Linked DNA regions of Homo sapiens: all the other regions are linked to region 2. Evidence: promoter capture Hi-C in 16 types of primary human blood cells and fetal thymus (Javierre and others, 2016). All regions are on one chromosome and are shown on one strand. Each heading gives the region's core, a stretch centred on a gene start or on the middle of the fragment in contact. The rest is flanking DNA. Distances are from core to core; before and after follow the strand shown.

Region 1 (3,757 bases), core at 1-2,500, 330 kb before region 2:
GATCGTGTCTAAAATGTCTAGCACATGGTAAATCACTCAAGAGATGCTAGCCAAGAAAAGGAAAAAAAGGAAGGCGGCAAAGGGAAATAGGTACTGAACGGTGACTCACAGAAACCAGGATCCAAGGCTCCTTTCAAAAGTCAAGGCTTTAACCAATGAGGGTTTCTGATTAAGTCACCCTGGAGAAGGGGCTTTGGGCAAAGGTCTGCGGTATGCTGACGAAAGCTGGACGCTGGGAGAACTGGTAAGAATATGCTATTCTTCTGTTTCAAACTCTCCAGTAGCTTCCCATCCAGCAGCTTTCATGCCAAGCTTCCAGTTTGGCATGAAATCCGAACTCCTTAGCAGAGTTTACAACACCTCCACAATAAATAAGGGTCTGCCTTCCTAACTGACCTCATGTCTTCCTATTCCCTGCCCTGGCTCACTATGCTTTGACCCCTGAAACACACCATGTTTATATCGTCTTGGAGGGGGGGCCTTTCTCATTGCAGTTCACTTCAGGACCGAAAACCTTGTGCGCTTGGCTTCTCATCATTTAGACATCACCTCAAATATCACTTCTTTACAGATGTTGCCCTTGATCTCCCACTCCAGTCAACTCTATCACATCACCCTATTTGTCTTCTTCCTAACCCTGATTATCCCACAGGTCTCGTTTACTTACTGACTCGCTTAAGACTCACGTCCTCCCCACCGCCCCCACAAGAATGCGCTGTCCTTGAGAGAAGGGACTTTTTGTGTCTTGTTACACAGGCGGTATATAACAGCTACTCAACAAATACTAACTGAAAAATGAATTGCTGCGGGGGAGGAGGGTTTAGCTTTCTTCTCAGGGCTCAGAACGAGGCCTAAATAACTTAGGATGGGGGCCAACAGGGCAGTTAACAAGCAGGTGGAAAGAAAGGGCCGAGGAAGTTTCTGGTAGGATGCCGGAGTCGGAAGGGGCTGGAAGGGTGGGAGGGCCGGGCAGGACTGCTGGCCGCCGCGCGAGGCCCGGGCGGTGGTTGCGGGAGTTGGAGGAGCAGGCCCGGAGGTGAGATGGGGGCCGGGGTCGTACCTTGCGCCTGCAGCACCCGCAGCGCGCGGCCGTAGAGCGCGGAGGCCTCGGCGTACTGGCCGTTGCGGAAACTCTCATTGCCGGCGGCGCGGAGCTCCTCCACAGAGTCTGGGAATTTGGGGGCCATCCCGTGGCCAGGCCGGCGAGTTGGGAGCTCCTTCCTTCCTCCCCCGTGTGGTGCGGCACACCTTCCGGGCGCAAGCGCCGGCGGCGAATATCTCCGCCCAACAGCGAACCCGCGGCGAGGGGGCGGGGCCTGCGAGACCTGGAGGCCCGGAGCGTCCCGCCCTCTGCGCGTGCTCGGTTTGGAACTTAGGCTCCCTTGCACGCGGGGCGGCAGCATGCTCTGGGCTCCCTGAGTTGCTAGAACGCCGTGGATGACGCAGGGAAGGAGGCTGGCCCCGCTATCAGGGAGATTATGTCCTAGTGGGGTCCCCACAGGCAATTAACTGATAAGCAAACGAAGACTCTCATTTCATGTGATTAGTGCTGTAAGGAAAACAAAACAGGATAATGCAATGGAAAGTGACCACGTGTGGGCTATTTTAAATAAGGGGATGAAGGAAGGCCTTTCTCAGGGGGTAATAGTTGAGCTGAGACCAGACAAGATTTAGGGAATGCTGTTCCAGCCAGAGGGATGGTAAGTGCAAAGGTTCCAAGGCTAGAAAGTACCTGGTACCTAGTGCTCTATAGATATTTATTTAATAAATTAATGCACAGGTGGATTGATGGTGTCAAAGTCAACATATAGAGATGAATCTCTAAAGTTTAAATATTTTATTTGGCAATCAAGAATTGCAATTCAGGGCTTACACACAGACCAGGTTGTCTTTGGTATGTCAGAAGAACAAAGAGAAGGTTTGGAGATTTTTATAAAACAGAAATGTTACATATTGCTCTTCAAGGAAGTTTACAGGCACTAGTAAAGTGGGGGTTTATCAGCTTCTTGGGGAGCTGGCAAGCTTTGATTGGTAAGTGATAGTGGTGGATAAAACTCAGAATTGTAGCAGGCTGTTTCAGTAGCTATTAGATAAAACTGGTTTTAGGTTACAGCAGGCAGTTTTAGCAGCCAGGCTTGCAAAAAATTACTTTTTTGGAGCAATGTTATATGCCCTGAGTATTTGTTCCCCTGGCTTTTCAATTCTGTCTTAGTTGGATATGACAAGAATGACCCAATTCGTATGATCAGCTTTCAGAATGGATGAAGATCTTTCACAGAGTGTGACTTCAATTTATCTCCAGCCTCATCTGACGACTCTATGTCCCACGCATTGCTATCTACACACACTAAATTCTTGCTTCCTAGCCTTTGCTTGTTATCTCCTTCTCCTGGATTTTTTTTTCTAAATACTTTTTCTCCTGCCTAATCCTGAATTAACTTATAACATTCCATTCAAACATCATCTTCTCTGAAAGCCTTTCCTGCTTCCAGCCCCCTCCCCACCCCCCACTATGCTCCCTTTGCTCCCTATTGGTCTCTAGCTTTATCCCTAACTTTGCATTAGTCACCCTTTGATTGCCAGTTTGTAGTTTTCCTTAAACACTGCGAGGTCTTTAATGGCAGGAAGTGGGTCCTTTTTATCTTTGTTTATCCAAGACCCTAATAGGGTCTGGCATCCAATAAAAGTCATTGATTGATAAAGATCTAGTCTCTACCTTCAGGAATTCAGTTATAATGATCTGCATACACTTAACTCCACCAGACTATAAGCTTTCTGAGGGCTGGATGGCTGTTCCATCTGAAATGCTTCCCCTTGCCCTCTGCCCCGACCAAGGATGAACACTGACTGTGGTGGGAAAACCAGATGAGGCCCATGCTGCTGGCTGGCTACTCAGTGACTTCCATCTTTGCTTCCAGGAGCCTGAATTTTGCCTGAGACTCTCCCAGCCTGGGGAAGTGAATCAGGATTGCTCTAAGCCAATTAGAAAAATGTCATTTTCTCTTGCCAGTGATTCATCAAGGGATGCACATGTGATGCTGATCTGGGCAATGAGATAAAAGGGAGTCTGAGGCTGGTCGCAGTGGCTCACATCTGTAGTCCTAGCACTTTGGGAGGCCGAGGCGGGTGGATCACAAGGCAGGAAATCGAGACCATCCTGGCTAACACAGTGAAACCCCATCTCTACTAATAATACAAAAAATTAGCTGGGGTGGTGGCACGCACCTGTAGTCCCAGCTACTCAGGAGGCTGAGGCAGGAGAATAGCTTGAACCCGGGAGGTGGAGGTTGCAGTGAGCTGAGATTGCACTGCTGCACTCCAGCCTGGGCGACAGAGCAACACTCCGTCTCAAAAAAAAAAAAAAAAAAAAAAAAGAGTCTGCTGAGTGTTTATGGGAAAGGTTTCCCTCCCCATAACAGAGAGGTACTGGGTCAAGTAGCCATTCTTGCTCTTTTTCTGCTTTGGGTAGTGCTGGGTTAAGGATATGATACCTGGAGGTGTGGCAGTCATTTTGCAACCATGAGGCAATAAACACAAGTATGAAAAGCCAACATGCTGAGTAGGATGGGAGGGGAAAAAATGAAATAGATATTGCTGAGTCATTGAATCAACTGCTGACTTATTAGCTTATTAATAAACAATAAAGGCAAGGTGTGGTGGCTCACAGCTGTAATCCCAGCTCTTTGGGAGGCCGAGGTGGACGGATCACTTGAAGTCAGGAGTTTGAGACCAACCTGGCCAACATGGTGAAACCCCA
Region 2 (3,955 bases), core at 1,364-3,863:
TCCTCATACCTCCCCTTCCAGCCTTCCCTCTCCTCTCCAGCACATGTCTCTGGACTAAAACCCTTGTGACTGAACCTGCCTTCTCTGCCCAGCCCCTGGTGACTCCTAACAAACTTGTAATGCTTGCCCTGGCATTCACATTTGCTTTCCCATTTGCTGTTTCTCAGCTTAGCTCCTCACGTCCGCTCATGTGGGGCGCAAGGTCTAGTACACGCCCACACCCAAGATCCTGAGACCCTAGTCTGCTCCCCTGCCTGGTGGAGGACACTGAGCCCTTGCCCAGCACTCATGTCCATCACCAGAAGCTTTGTGTCTCCTTTCTTCCTCTGATCACTTGTGCAGTGTCACCCAGGAGCTGGGAGAAACAAAGATTCCTGGGCCCCACTGCAGGATGCTGCATTTTAACAGACCCTCAGGTGATTCATAAGTCCATGAAGTCTTGTGGGTTAGAACCACTAACCCACAAGCCCTTGTCATGGGATGCAGCATGATCCACCTGGGGGACTGAGGGCGACTGTCTTCTCCAGCCTCACCCTCCCCACATGCCCTTGAAAAGCCACTCGAGTCCTGTGCCCAGGAGCCCTCTCCTCCTTTATCATCTGCGGAATGTCTACCCTTCCTTGCTGGTGCAGCTCACTTGCCACCTCCTCCAGGAAGCCTTCCTGGGCTCCATAAAGCTGAGCTGCTTATGCCCTCCTCTGTGTATTTAACAGCAATTTGCTTTTCATTGTGTGATGTGGCCGAACTTCTTCATTGGGCCTGGGGATCTGAAGCCACGCCACTTCAAATGAGTGGGAGGGTGTGGAAAAAGGGCAAGTAATGGCCTGCAGAGAAAGGGGCCCTTCCTGATCATCCACTGTGCATGTTCACATTCATCAATGACTTCGCTCTTTCCTTTTAACCTATGAGGTTGGCGTTGCCCACAGGTTTTTTTTGTTGTTGTTATTGTTTTGTTTCTTGGTTTTGTTTGTTTTTGAGACGGAGTCTCCCTCTGTCGCCCAGGCTGGAGTGCAGTGGCGCGATCTTGGCTCACTGAAACTCTGCCTCCTGGGTTCAAGCGATTCTCCTGCTTCAGCCTCCTGAGTAGCTGGGATTACAGGCACATGCCACCATACCCGGCTAATTTTTGTATTTTTAGTAGAGACGGGGCTTCACCATGTTGGTCAGGCTGGTCTTGAACTCCTGACCTTGTGATCCGCCCGCCTCAACCTCCCAAAGTGCTTGGCATTACAGGTGTGAGCCACCATGCCTGGCCTGCTCACAGGTTTTACAAGAGGGGACACTGAGGCAAAAGTGTCCCATGGAGGCTGTGCTGCTGACAAACGGCAGAGCGGCTCCTGCCATTCACCTGCACTGTATCTCGGGCTTTGCTTTGGTCTACTCCATAAACTTCCTGAAAAAGGTTTCTTTGAAAAAGTCCAAATTTGTCCCTAATAACTGAAGGGTAGAAATGTGAAATGGGCCTACTCTGGGATCAAGACCACCTGGGTTCAAACCCTAACTTGGAAGCTCTGGGCCTTGGGCAACTAACTGGCCTCTTTCAAGTTCAGTTTTCCCTCCTGTAGGTTGAGAGGTTTCAACGAGACAACACAGATGAAAGGCACAGCCTGGCCCCCAGCATGCAGGCCAGTGTTTGGTAATTGATAGTTTTCTCTCCTGTTTCACTATCCTAGGTCCAAAGAACCAGAAGAGTAGACAGTCCTTAGAGACAGCAGCTGTGCCGGCTGCAGAAATGGAGAGAGCTGTGAGCTAGAATAGAAGAAGAGAAAGGCCAAAAACCACGGAGAAACAGAGCCAGACAACACAGAGGTGAAATTCAGAAAGCGAGTCCAGCACTTGGCTGAAGTTACAGGCCCTTCCTGCCCTGCCCTTTCCCACCCAAGGCCATGCCTAGTTCATGTTACTAAGTCTAAGAAACAGCTCCAGAAGTGGCATCTCTGCTAACCACTAGGGAAGATATTGTCGTTTTTTAATGATTCAAACTCTCCAGGGAACCAAGAAGGCTGAGGGCGCTGAGTTCTCTCCACACACCTGGGCTCAGGACTCCCCCAATATCTACGTGCTTTATTCCTGATCTTAACAGGCTCTGAAAGCCACATAAACCCGTGCTTGCCTGGGTACCAAAAGACCCGGGCCCGGGGGTCTTTGTTCGGGCTCGGTGCCTTCTCCATCTAAGCTTTCTTGGCAGTGTTACTCTCCTCACACTGTTACTTGGGTTCTCACTTTCTGTTCTTGAGTTAATGGATGTTTGTTTTCCTGAATTCACGGGTCCTTTGTAAGTCTTCTATCCCATAACGTAAGATGGGGGTATAAACAAAGAAGCAAGCGCTAGCTGACCTTATGTGGGGCATGGTTAGGGAACAGGAATTCCCTGTATCCAGCAGGGTTAAGCTGGTAGGAGGAAAGGGAAATGAGAGAAAGGAATCAAGAAGTGAGAAAGGGAACCAGTACCTGTCAACACCAACACACACCTGGTAAGTAGCAGGGCTGGTCTTCAAATCCAGGACTATGGGGCCACTGCATGGGAACAGAAGCAGCTTGTAGACTTCGGTGGTGGGGCTGCCAGAGTCGGGGAATTAAGGGAGGACAGGCTCTGCAGCCCAAGTGCCAGATGCCAACGGCCTGCGAAGGCTCTAGGACCCAGCTCCAAATCAGTGCTCCCGGCGCCATCCAGTGGCCATTAGGGAGATTGCAAGAGAAAAAAGCATGAGAAAAGAAACCCCAGAGAAGCCAGTGCCTGCCAACTCCAGGGAAGAGGAAGGAAGGAGCCTGGCCTTTGCCCTCAGTGCCCCCTATCAGTTGACTACCCTGCTCCAGTTTGACCTCCCCACTAGGCTTCTTCCTGGTGCAACTGATGTTTTCTCTCTGTGTGACCTTGGGCAGGCAACTCTGGCCTCTAGGCCTCAGTTTCCCCAACTGTAAAATGAATGGTAAGGCAAGGTGAGGTCACATGCCAAGTCCATAGGTCTTTAGCTCATCTGATCCTCATGGCCAGGTAAGATGATCATTCCCATCCCCCCATACTCCAGTCCCTCCTGACCACGCATAGTTCAAGCTTCACTCACCTGTAAAGTCTTCCATGGCCTCCTGCGGAAATTCCAGCCACCGTTTAAGGATCACCTCTCCAGGATTTCTCCCTCCTCTCATCTGAAGTTCCCTCTTTCTGCAACAGTCAGGTGGACCTCAGCCCTTCTAGCCCGGAGCTTCCTCAGCTCAAGAGTTTTTCTCAATCATCAGTTTCTCCCTCTTCACCAAGCCTAGCAAGGTGCCCGGCACAGAGTACTTAAGAGCAGCTGCTCTGAAGTCAGTCAGCCTGGCTTCAAGCCCCATGTGGTAGGCAGAATGGCCTTCCCCACAAAGATGTACACATTTTAATCCCCGGCACCTGTGATTTCACCTCACACGACAAAAGGGACTTTGCAGATGTGGTTAAGATAGAGAGCTTGAGGCTGGGCGCGGTGGCTCACGCCTGTAATCCCAACACTTTGGGAGGCTGAGGCAGGCGGATCACCTGAGGTCGGAAGTTCAAGTCCAGCCTGACCAACATGGAGAAACTCTGTTTCTACTAAAAATACAAAAAATTAGCTGGGAGTGGTGGCATACACCTGTAATCCCAGCTACTCAGGAGGCTGAGGCAGGAGAATCGCTTGAACCCAGGAGGCGGAGGTTGCAGTGAGCCGAGATCGCACCATTGCACTCCAGCCTGGGCAACAAGAGCAAAAACTCCATCTCAAAAAAAAAAAAAGATAGCTTGAGATGGGATTATCTTTGATTATCAAGGTCATGCCAATATAAACAGAAGGGTCCTTATAAGACAGAGACGGGAAGGTCAGAGTCAGAGAAAGAGATGTGCTGATGGAAACTGAGTCTGAAGTGATGTAGGGCCATGACCCAAGGAATTCAGGTAGCCTCTAGAAGCTGGAAAAGGCCAGGAAACAAAAGCCTCTAGAAGGAA
Region 3 (3,957 bases), core at 841-3,340, 380 kb before region 2:
TAAGGAGACCCTATATTCAGGGAAGTTGCGTGAACACTGCAGTGGGGAGAATTGAGAATAGTCAGGCCTATCAGTCTCACAGAATCACCCCTCTACCTTTGATATTCCACTTAGCTGTAGAGTCCATCTGTTTGTCCATCTGCTGAAATGAGAAAAGAAAAATTTATGCACTGATTTAAAACAAACCAAAAAAAAAGAAAAAAACAAAAAAAAAAATCCCTCCTTTCTAGCTGAACAAAAATGTGCAGTTAATACTTGGCGCTTGAAAATGCAGTAGTGAATGTGGAACCAAGCCTGTCTGTATATCTGGTAGCTCTTTTCTTGCTTTGTTTTTTCTTACCAGTATTCTGCCTAACGTTTGCTTCTGTGATGGTTATATTGCCTAGCAAGCACACCCGTGGTTGTGAAAATAGTATAGCAAAAAAGAAAAATCCCCGGTTATTGATGTACTAGATTTGTGTATGTCTTTTAAACAGTTCTAGTTTCACCTTACACAGAATAATCAGGAAAAGTGTAAAAATTCAAAAGTGAAATAAAAATTTTATCAGTTAGTTGCCTGTGAATTGATGTGTCACCACCATCTCTGTTGTTACCAGACCTAGCTAACTATTCTGATCACACTTATTTTTAACTCTGTTTTCTTTAAAAATAGGCAAACAGTTTTATTTCATTATTTAGGACCAGAAGTCAAGGTGTTATCCAGGGGAAGAAATTACCATTAATTAAACAGCCTCTTTACACCCGTTACTTGATACCTCTCTACCTTCCACAACAAACCATGCAGGTATTAGGTCCTCTTTAGTGACTTCTAAGATTTGGTATGGACAGTTATTTTGCATTGTATTCGAGCCCACCATCCCTTCCCCATTTTTTAACTCTGAGATACAACCAAGCCAGTGAAATAGGTAACCTATGGTTGCATAAGTCTTGGTCATCACCAAGCTGGCGTCTCACCTGTCCTCACACTGTATGGTGGCCTGCAGAGCTGGTTCCTCACAGGATTTGCCCCTTCTGAAAACATCCACATTACCACAAGGAGAGAAAAATATCAGGATAGAGGGGTCTTTTTTAGCCCAAGATTAGAATTAGTGCTTCCTTGCTACTCTGAGGCTGGACAGCCAGATGGGCACCTTCTGTCCCTAGTTTAGGAGCTGTTCCACCTGTTGAAGCCACACTCAACCAAAAGTCAGTGGGGGCCTACCTGCTCTGTTGGATCAGTGAGACCAGGAAAGTCCTATCAGAGGAAAAGTGAAGTATTGGTGCTCAGTGGAGTAGTTGTTTTGTTTTTGTGTTGTTTTTAATGTCCCTATACCACAGATTGACGCTGCAAGCTCAGATTCACAGTCTTGCTCTGTTTAGGTCTTGCTCTGCTATTAGTTCCCAATTGTCCGCATTTAGGCTGAGCCACAAGTAACTCAGTGAACCTCCCTGGTGTAATGGATGTGTAATGGCTTAGCAGAGGGACAGGGAATATCCCAGGAAAAGGGGTCTTGGTAATATGAGCCAGTACCAAGAAAGGCCTTAGTGGTCTCCAGTTCTCATGTCTCAAAGCCATTTCCATCCTTGGTGCGAAACGGTGGGACTGGATCAGGCTCTCTGGAGGAAGACATCTTCAATGGAGCAGGGTAAAATTCTCTACACAAGCTTTGAAACAGTGGCCTGTTCGGAATTCCGTTTGTGTGTGAAACGCAAAAAGCGCGGTTTGGGTCTCCTTTCATTCTTGTCAGGAGGGAATCATTCCCATTTTACAGAGAAGGGAAACGGGTTCAGAAAGATGATCATCTGTTCCGGGGTTAGAACTCAGTCCCCTGCGTCCTTTCCGTCCCAGTCCTCGGCTCTTTCAAAAGAGCTGGGGGTTTTGAGAGCTCCACTCAAGTCCCAGCAGCCCTGCTCAAGGCCAGGTTGAAGGCTTTTTCCGCCTCCCAGGGCGGGGTCAGAGGTGTCCCCACCTGTAGCTTTTAGATCCCCAAGTGCTCGCAGGTGGGGGGTGGGCCCAGGAGGGATCCCGGGGGAGGGGCGTCCGAGCGCGCCCACGATTGGTGCGCAGGGACGCGGGGGCGGTAAAGGGAAGGGGCGGGCCCGCGCCCAGGAAGGAGGGCTTCCGCCCGGGTGAGCGCGGGGCTGCTGGGTGACCCGGCTCCTGCTTGCCCCGCAGCCCCGGCCCCCTGCCCACCATGAACGCCAGCGGTTCTGGCTACCCGCTTGCCTCGCTTTACGTGGGCGATCTGCACCCCGACGTGACCGAGGCCATGCTCTATGAGAAGTTCTCTCCCGCCGGCCCCATCCTGTCCATCCGCGTGTGCCGCGATGTAGCCACCCGGCGCTCGCTGGGCTACGCCTACATCAACTTCCAGCAGCCCGCGGACGGTGAGCCCCGGGGATGGGGCGGGAGGGGAAGGACCGACGGACAAGCAGGCGGACAGACAGAAGCCGGAACTGGGCCGCTTGCGCTTTCATCTTACACTTTGCAGCCGGGGAAACTGAGGCTCAAAGATAACAGGGCGTTGGCAGAGGCCTGGCCCCTGAGACGGGAATTGGTAATTAGTGTGGTTTACTGCTATTCCTCTACAGAGGAGAGAGATTAGGGTCGAGTGAAAACAGATACAGGCTTTGTGGGGGTGGGGGTGGGGGTCAGGCGGACCAGGGATAGAAGCCCAGCAGCCGTGTGACTCTGGGCAAGTTACTCGACCATTCTGAGCTTCAGATGCGTGTCTGGAAAATGGGGGTCCTAGCTGCCTTATAGAGTGCTTGTGAGGATGAGAGATTCAAAGCACCTGGTGAGGAAGATGCCCAAGGCAACACAGCTGGTGAGCAGGGGAGGCAGGAGAACCCAGCCTTGGGCTCAGGCCTTTCCCAGCGCGACGTGAGATCCACACTGGGCGCCTCTACCTGCACGGGCTCTGAAAAACCGCTGCCTCCAGGCCGCAAGGCCGCTTTCTCAGAGCTGATAGCATTGATTAGAGCTTGTCCGATGAGTTTGCCTGCACTTCTGTTGAGAGTGGAGAGGATGAGTGAGCTTGGGCAAGCCTTCACGCTCTGCACCTTTTCATCTGCAAAATGGGGCTAAGGCGTATTCTCCAATAACATAAAGAATGGAGAACTGCTGTCTATGCATAAAGAATGGTAACTGCTTGTTACCTCGTAAACGCTCTTAAGTGGTAACCTAAAATAAATAAATAAATAAATAAATAAATAAATAAATAAATAAATAAGGCCAGGCGCAGTGGCTCACGCCTGTAATCCCAGCATCTTAGGAGGCCGAGGTGGGCAGATCACTTGAGGTCAGGAGTTCGAGACCAGCCTGGCCAACATAGCGAAACCCTTTCTCTACTAAAAATACAAAAAATAGCTGGGCATGATGGCGGACGCCTGTAATCCCAACTGCTGGGGAGGCTGAGGCACGAGAATCGCTTGAATCCGGGAGGCAGAGGTTGCAGTGAGCCGAGACTGCGCCATTGCACTCCAGCCCGGGCAACAGAGCGAGACTCCATCTCAACACAAAACAAAACAACAAACAAAAAAGAAACAACAACGAAAATAGTGGCTTTAACATTCTGATGTAAGACTCCAGAAACTCACCCAAAAAATGGCCGGCGTCCACTAGAGGGATCCCTTGCGCCAGGTCGCCTGGGTGAACCTGGTGGTTGCCTGAGTGGGTGGTTTGCTAGGGAAGGGGTTGTTCCGCCGGGCCTGTTCCCCGCCCCTTACTGGGCTGGATTCCTGGGCACTTTTCTGTTTGTTCTGCTTTGCTCCACCTCCTGCCTCTTCCCATCTTCCTCCAAGCCCTGTGAATGAAGTGGGACTCGGCCTGGAAACCGTGCTGCAGAGAGAAGGGTTTTGCCCCAGGTATTTATGATAAGACTAGGTGGAGAATCCGGGCTTCCTGAAACTTGCTCCACTGTGTTCCCCACAGCCCCCTTCCATGTCTCTGCACTAGCAGACTCCCTGAAACAGGTC

What was found. Contacts are between HindIII fragments. The CHiCAGO score rates a contact against its expected background, and 5 or more counts as called.
Region 1: a contact is called between the fragment with the promoter of TOMM34 here and a fragment that was not itself captured in region 2, in 1 of 17 cell types (endothelial precursors). The highest score is 6.8, in endothelial precursors.
Region 3: the fragment with the promoter of PABPC1L here is called in contact with a fragment that was not itself captured in region 2 in 1 of 17 cell types (endothelial precursors); the score reaches 7.0 in endothelial precursors.

The regions. Positions count from the first base shown.
Region 1 is chr20:44,959,147-44,962,903 of GRCh38, forward strand. TOMM34 (translocase of outer mitochondrial membrane 34) reads right to left here and starts at 1,251. Exons shown (of 7, transcript NM_006809.5): 1 at 1,061-1,251. The coding sequence starts at 1,187. LOC124904912 (a long non-coding RNA gene) reads left to right here. Exons shown (of 2, transcript XR_007067599.1): 2 at 1-391. RefSeq lists enhancers at 180-269, 1,050-1,099, 1,110-1,199 and a silencer at 1,430-1,509. The HindIII fragment of the contact is 1,710 bases long and covers 311-2,020 here.
Region 2 is chr20:45,288,403-45,292,357 of GRCh38, forward strand. It overlaps LOC105372630 (a long non-coding RNA gene), which reads left to right. Exons shown (of 3, transcript XR_936763.3): 3 at 1,674-1,950. Among named protein-coding and RNA genes, the nearest start is that of RBPJL, 16 kb to the right of the region's middle. The HindIII fragment of the contact is 879 bases long and covers 2,175-3,053 here.
Region 3 is chr20:44,907,970-44,911,926 of GRCh38, forward strand. PABPC1L (poly(A) binding protein cytoplasmic 1 like) reads left to right here and starts at 2,091. Exons shown (of 15, transcript NM_001372179.1): 1 at 2,091-2,367. The coding sequence starts at 2,175. YWHAB (tyrosine 3-monooxygenase/tryptophan 5-monooxygenase activation protein beta) reads left to right here. Exons shown (of 6, transcript NM_139323.4): 6 at 1-563. RefSeq lists a silencer at 1,945-2,274. The HindIII fragment of the contact is 5,219 bases long and covers 1,643-3,957 here.